2 separate regions of the Homo sapiens genome follow, and region 2 is linked to region 1. The links are contacts of gene promoters, found by promoter capture Hi-C in blood cells and fetal thymus (Javierre and others, 2016). All regions are on one chromosome and are shown on one strand. Each heading gives the region's core, a stretch centred on a gene start or on the middle of the fragment in contact. The rest is flanking DNA. Distances are from core to core; before and after follow the strand shown. Region 1 holds the start of SLC19A3 (solute carrier family 19 member 3). Region 2 overlaps COL4A3 (collagen type IV alpha 3 chain).

What was found. The method cuts DNA at HindIII sites, captures the fragments that hold promoters and counts their contacts. A CHiCAGO score of 5 or more calls a contact.
Region 2: a contact is called between a fragment that was not itself captured here and the fragment with the promoter of SLC19A3 in region 1, in 2 of 17 cell types (activated CD4 T cells and monocytes). The highest score is 6.0, in activated CD4 T cells.

What each region holds. Positions count from the first base shown.
Region 1 is chr2:227,716,479-227,720,176 of GRCh38, reverse strand. It overlaps SLC19A3 (solute carrier family 19 member 3), which reads left to right and starts at 2,149. Exons shown (of 6, transcript NM_025243.4): 1 at 2,149-2,234. RefSeq lists an enhancer at 1,732-2,618. The HindIII fragment of the contact is 1,627 bases long and covers 1,862-3,488 here.
Region 2 is chr2:227,291,317-227,294,846 of GRCh38, reverse strand. It overlaps COL4A3 (collagen type IV alpha 3 chain), which reads right to left. Exons shown (of 52, transcript NM_000091.5): 38 at 1,530-1,656; 39 at 277-357. The region is part of intron 2 of MFF-DT (MFF divergent transcript); the gene reads left to right. Among named protein-coding and RNA genes, the nearest start is that of MFF-DT, 32 kb to the left of the region's middle. The HindIII fragment of the contact is 4,732 bases long and covers 1-3,530 here.

The DNA.
Region 1 (3,698 bases), core at 900-3,399:
TAAGAACTACTGCCCAAGTCAACAATAATCAACACACAGCCAATCTTTTGTCATCTATGACCCCATCCACAGCCTTCTCCCCACACAGTCGTATGGGATCAAACTCAAATGTCATGTCATGTAATCTGCAAATGTGTCATTTATGTTTCTATGCATGAATGAATGAATTCCTCAATATCTCTCTCTGATTTAGACTGTGGCTATGAGATATTAGAGAATCAGAGTAAACTTCTCAAGGTCCAATTTGAACTCATTTTCTTCAAGAGGTGTGAAGGAAATCATGACACCTTCAGCCTTTAAGAAAATTTCACAATATTCTTTGGGAGGACCCAGCAATTTGCAAGGTTGCACAATGAGCAGGGCACTCCTACACCTAAGGTTCAGCTCAGGACTTTTCACAAATCATAGGAAGATGAAAATAGAAAACGCAGAGTCGTAGGACAGAGAACCAAGACACCTCGGGGTGTTTTAATCCATTTCACTTCCACTGGTAGCCCTTAGAAGCCACGCAGTGTTTATCTTTAGGGAGGGTTTTTCAAGTCCACCAAGAGATGAACAGAAATAAAAATATTTTTTCCATTTTAACCAATAAGAACCTTGTAATGCTTTAAAAAAATTCTCTGTTTAATAAGAAGTTTCACTTTAATATATAAACTCTTTGCAGGCTAAGCGTAGTGGCTCATGCCTGTAATCCCAACACTTTGGGCGGGCAAGGCAGGAGGATCCTTTGAGCCCAGGAGTTCAAGACCAGCCTGGGCAAGATAGTGAGACTCTGTCTCTACCAAAAAAAAAAAACAAAAAAATTAATGTGACGTGGTGGCACCCACCTGCAAGCCCAGCTACTTGGGAGGCTGAGGCAGGAGGATCAGTGTGCCTGGGAGATTGAGGTTGCAGTGAGCTGGGGTTGCACCACTGCACTCCAGCCTGGGAGATAAAGTGAGACTTTGTCAAAAAAAAAAAAAAAAGAAAGAAAGAAAGAGAAAAGAAAAGAAAAGAGGCCAGGTGGCCGGGTGCTGTGGCTCACACCTGTAATCCTAGCACTTTGGGAGGCCGAGGCGGGTGGATCACCTGAGGTCAGGAGTTTGAGACCAGCCTGGACAACATGGTGAAACCCCATCTCTACTAAAAATACAAAAATTAGCTGGGTGTGGTGACGGGCGCCTGTAATCCCAGCTACTAGGGAGGCTGAGGCAGAAGAATTGCTGGAACCCGGGAGGTGGAGGTTGCAGTGAGCCAAGATCGTGCCATTGCACTCCAGCCCGGGGCCAACAACAGCGAGGCTCCATCTCAAAAAAAAAAAGAAAGAAAGAAAGAAAGAAAAAAGACCAGGCGCGGTGGCTCACGCCTGTAATCTCAGCACTTTGAGAGGCCGAGGCAGGCGGATCACGAGGCCAGGAGTTCGAGATGAGCCTGGCCAATATGGTGAAACCAAACCCCGTCTCTACTAAAAACACAAAAATTAACTGGGCGTTAATTTTTGGAGGCTGAGGCAGGAGAATCGCTTGAACCCGGGAGGCGGAGGGTTGTAGTGAGCCGAGATCGCGCCACTGCACTCCATCCTGGGCGACAGAGGGAGACTCTGTCTCAAAAAAAAAAAAAAGAAAGAAAGAAAAGAGAAAAGAAAAGAAAAAGAAGAAGAAAAGAAAAAATTGTTTGTATCAGATTTTCAAAGTGCCAGGAAACCATCCCACTCTACCTCCTTTAAAAAAAAAAAGTGCAGAGTGATTATAACCACTGGCTCTGGAGCCAGGAGCCCCAACTAAAACCCAGGCTTCTCTATTTACTAGGCCTACTTCCTTCCGCCTCACTTTCTTCATGTGTAGAGTGGGGGTGACAGCCAGCCAGCCCTCTCTCCTAAGCTTTTGGAGAGAAATAAATGGATTCATAAGAAAGGACATATTTGTAAATAAAGCAAACGATCGCTGTTGGATTCAGGCCCTCTTGCTTCATTATGCTGAATGTCAGTGTATTACTTAAGTTGTTCCTTTCAGCAGAGTTGACTGTTTCTGCCCAGAAAACCGGCCCTGGGCCAGGAAAATCTGGGCTTCCACACTGGGATGAAAGGTCTGGACGCCCGGATTCGCATATGCAAAGCGTGGGGGCGTGGCCCCGGGCTCCGGGCCAGGCAGGCTCCGCCCCCTTCCCACCAAGAGCGCCTGGATCCATCCGACAGCCGCGGGTGCGTGGTCGTGCGGCAAGTGAGCGATTTGGTGAACAGACACTCCCTTCTGTAGGTAAGAATATCTCGGGGGGCGAATTAATTGAAGAAGCACCGTCATCCCTCGGTCTTAGCAGTGTCGCCTCTCTCTTCCCGGGTTTGGAGAGCTGGGGGCGGGTTCCTGGCTCTGCGGGCCTGGGCTACACTCTGAGCCGCGTGAGGAGCTCTCCCCCTACGCCGCAGCCCGCGTGCTGGGATTCACCCAAGTGGGTTTGTCTGGAATTCCCATTTGCAGCCTTCTGGAAGCGCAGATTAAATAAAATCATGATTCCCGTAAAGTGCCAGCACCTCCTATGGTTACATCCCACGTTCACAGATTTTAACTGAAAAGGCATTTTAGCATAGAATTCCAAATTCCAATCCAAGGATGGAGAAAAGGTCCTTCCTAGTGGGAAAAAGGAAGGTGAGTTTGAATTTAAGAGAGCAGGGGCTTTTTTGGGAACCACTTGAAATTTAGTTAATTGAAACTAAAAGAAAACGCAACTACACCTTACAAAAACACTGCTGGAAAGGATACCTAAGTCATCAAATAATAAATAGTGTGACAGCTGTTTACCAAATCAATGTCGCTGCCGCAAATGTGCAAAAGGTTGGGACTTTCGGAGTGCTTCAAGTTTGAAAAAGGTAAAGGAATAATGTTTTCTAAAAGTACTCTCAGGCCAGGCGCAGTGGCTCACGCCTGTAATCCCAGCACTTTGGGAGGCTGAGCGGGGCGGATTGCTTGAGGTCAGGAATTCGAGACCAGCTTGGCCCTGGGATGAAACCCCGTCTCTACTAAAAAGGCAAAAATTAGCCGGGCATGGTGGCGGGTGCCTGTAATCCCAGCTACACTGGAGGCTGAGGCTGAAGAATGGCTTGAACTTGGGAGGCGAAGGTTGCAGTGAGCCAAGATTGCACCACTGCACTCCAGCCTGGGCGACCCAGCAAGATTCTGCCTCAAAAAAAAAAAAAAAAAAAAAAAAAAAGCACTCTCATGTGTTTTGCTCCTATCAATATTGAAACATTGGTGTCTCCTGTGGCAAAAGGTGTTTTTTTCATCGAGGCACATATATTAAATAGACCAAAACATAACTTCCCAAATATCTTATAAGATTATCCTAGTAGTAGCTGAAATGGACAAAAATACCAATTTCCTTCAGTCATTATTGCTAATAGACCAACAACACTCTTTTAAGGTTGTGTAATGGTAAATGCATACACATTTATTTAACATGCACACAGGGAGAATCAGAGTGATTGATTACCCACCCTGCAACATGTCTCAGAAGCTTATAGACTACCCTGGCAAATGAGGTTACGGGAGGGAGCCGAAGAGCATCCAGCAGAAGTGGATGGGCTTCTGCTAGGGAGCATGAATGGGTCAGGGGAGAGAATAAGCTACATTATCTTGTGAATGGGTCTGTTCAGGTGTGGGGTATATTCTTGGTCTTACAGGGAAGGGAAAAGAAACAGTTGTTCCTTTTGGTGGGTCTGGATCTTA
Region 2 (3,530 bases), core at 567-3,066, 420 kb after region 1:
GCTGTTTTTCAGAACTGTAGCTATGTGAAGCTATGTTCCCAGGGAAAACCACATACAGATTACTATTATCATGAGGATTATCAGTTTGGAATAGGTTGCCAAATATTTGAATTAAATAGATAGAAATATCTAACCCCATTTTTTTTGCATTTTTGTCTGGATACTGAGTAACTAGGAGCTACCTTCTATAGAGTAGTAGGTTTACAGAAATCCAAACCTCAGGAGAAAATGTGTCTCCCACATGAAAAGGAAAAAGAGAAAGTACAAAAATGAAACCTGGAGGGCCTCTGATTCCTGGAGGGCCCAGGAGGCCTTTGATTCCTTTAAAACCCAAATCACCATGAGGACCTGGCTTTCCTGGAAATGAAGAGAGGGGAAGGAAGAAAAAAGATCACCAAAAGATAAATGATTACAACAGTGACTGAAACGGTCTGTTTTTATAGTCAACCATGCTCACGCTGGCCTTAAGGAAGCTCTCTTGTTGCAAGGTCACCCCATGATTTTGTCCAGGCTGCAATTTTCCTGGAGAACCAGTGCAGAGATGTGTCTAATCACTTTCAAAGATGTGTGTACACCAACCACAAGCACCACTCAATATGCGATTTTATTTTAATTGCGAGTTAAATGCAAATTTATTGAAACTTTCTGTATTTGAACAGGTAGTTTATTGTATTTAAGTAAGACCTGAATCTGCAACCCGATAGTTTCACAGTTGTTTTTAATAAAACAAAACCCTAAACCTGAATTGTAAGCTAATAAGCCAGAAAGCCAAAATTCAATCCAGAAATGGGTTCGAAAAAGAGTCACAGCACAGTGTTGTAGTTTGAATTGTGTTGTCCCCAAATTCATATGCTGAAGTCCTAACCTTCAGTACTTCGGAACATGACTCTGTATTTGGGGATAGGGCTGGTAAACAGGTAATTAAATTAAAATGAGGTCAGTAGGGTGGGCCCTAATCCAATGTGAGTGGTGTCTTTATAAGAAAAGAAGATTCAGACACTTGGAAAACACTGGAAGAAGATAGCCATCCACAAGCCAAGAACAGGGGCCCCACAAGAAACCAACGCTGCCGACAGCTTGATCACAGACTCGGAGCTGCTGGAACTGTGAGAAAATAAACATCTGTAGTTTAAGCCACCTAATCACTTCTCAGCCTTTTGGCTAACATCAAGTGTAGTTTAAGCCACCTAGTCTGTGGAATTCACTATGGAAGCCTGGACAAACTAATACAAACATTATGATTGTATAACGGCTAACATTTTGTATCCTTGGGCTGAATTTGTTGAGGCAGTTCTTCAAAAGTGTTTTTTATAGGAACATATTTTTGTATTTCAGTCCAAATGGGCTGATTAGTAAAATTGGGCTCTCTTAATGAATTCTCTTAGTGTGTTAGAATTTGAAGTTCAAAGTTGAATAAAAGCAACTGCAGCATAAAAGTATAAATAGCTTTCTGTTTACCACAATGATTTCAGGAGGGCTATACTCTGAGTAATGCTTCCAGCTTTTAGAATTGTAAACTCAAGCCTTACCTGGGAGGCCAGGACTTCCAGGACTTCCAGGGGCTCCCTCAGGTCCAGCAGGCCCCAAATGTCCAGGTGGGCCAGGTTGCCCCATTTCTCCTTTCTTTCCCATATCACCCGGCAGTCCTGGATCCCCCTTAAATGTAGTCAAATACCTTTAAAATTCTCATATAAGCAGGATATGTGGTAAGAATTCAGCATAAACTTTATTCACTAATTTTTTCATTCATTCATCAATTCATATTAGTATCTGCTATCTGCCAGCACTGTGATAGGTGCTGGGAATAAGACGGCCACATGGTTTATGGGGCCCAGTGCAAAATGAAAATGCAGTTTCCCTTAAAACTTTTTAAAGTGAATTTCAAGACAGCAACAGCATAGCGTCAGACCAAGTGTGGAGGCCCTTCTTAGCACAGGATTTCTGTGACTGCACTGGTAGCATACCCAGGAAGCCAGCTTTTACCAGGATATAATGGTAACCTATATAGATTTATGACATACACAGTCCCTGCCTTCATGGAGCTTCAGAGACCAGTAAGGAGATAGATATTAAATAATCACACAAATATATAGTTACAAATTGTGATGAGTAGCTGGGAGTAAGAAAGAAATAGACTAAATAAAGATGTATCCTACAAATGCTATGCATGCACATATGTCAATCACATGTTTTAAAAACCTTCCAATGATTTAGTGTTCATTAAATCTTCACTTCAGTTTTACGACAAACCCGAACATATAGGTTTGATAAAGATTTACAAAATTTCTATGGTAGCCAATTAAAATATACTACTCTGTTACTCTCATTTTGCTGACATGATAAAACCAGCTCATTTTGTGTTCAATGCACAGTTCTAAAAATTTATTCTGGTGGTTACCTGTGAAAACTTTAAATCTAAATGAAACTATCAGTTAATTGAGTGTGAAGTCAAATAGGATTTTTCGTTGAGCAAATATCTCAGTGGAAGCAATCTCAGGTTTTCTGAGGACTTAATCTAAATATAAAGAACAAAGACATTTGTCTGTGCTCCAAGTAGTAAACAGTTGCTTTCTTGGGTCTGTGTAGTGTCTAAATTTTTTTCTTGTTTTAGCAGTTACTACTGGAGACTATAGCTGGTGGAAATATTTAGGAAAGGTGGTATTTTATTGTCTCCAAAAAGAGGGAGAAGGTTCCCTAAGTAATACTTTTTATATATTGGAGTCATACATATACTGTTGAAAATCTAAAAATCTAAATCTGAAAAATAGACTCTACCCTACAAAAACATTTTCAAACATTTTGCATTTAGTTTCAAGAGGTTGCTGGGCTTCTTGGGATCCCATAGATTTTCCCAGTGGTCCATGGAATCCCACGTTAGCAACTTCTGCTTATAGGAACTTCTATTAATCATTCTCTAGTGGTCTATCTCTGGCTTTTAGTGTGAGAGCTGTACTCAGATAATTGGGAAGAGAATAAACCTAAGAAAGCAGCCAAGCCCTATTGAAACATCTGGTTGCTGCTTTGTATAATACAGTAGTAAGGGCTTTAACATCCAACCTCAATTTGACAAAGCACAAACACTGAAAACATTGAAACAAGATTAAGCATTTCCATTCCATTACACAGAAAAAGTTCTAAAACAAGAAAGATAAATGTATCTATCTTAGGATTTTGTTCGCTTTCTAATGATGCTGTAAAGTTATTTTATTTTGTATCTTTTGTTAGTCTTTGTAAGACAAGTGTTTTTTTTTTTGTTTTTTTTTTTTGTTTTTTTTTTTTTTTTTGAGACGGAGTCTCGCTGTGTCTCCCAGGTTGGAGTGCAGTGGCGCGATCTCGGCTCACTGCAAGCTCCGCCTCCCAGGTTCATGCCATTCTCCTGCCTCAGCCTCCCAAGTAGCTGGGACTACAGGCGCCCGCCAAAACGCCCGGCTAATTTTTTGTATTTTTAGTAGAAACGGGGTTTCACCATGTTAGCCAAGATGGTCTCGATCTCCTGACCTCGTGATCCGCCCGTCTCGGCCTCCCAAAGT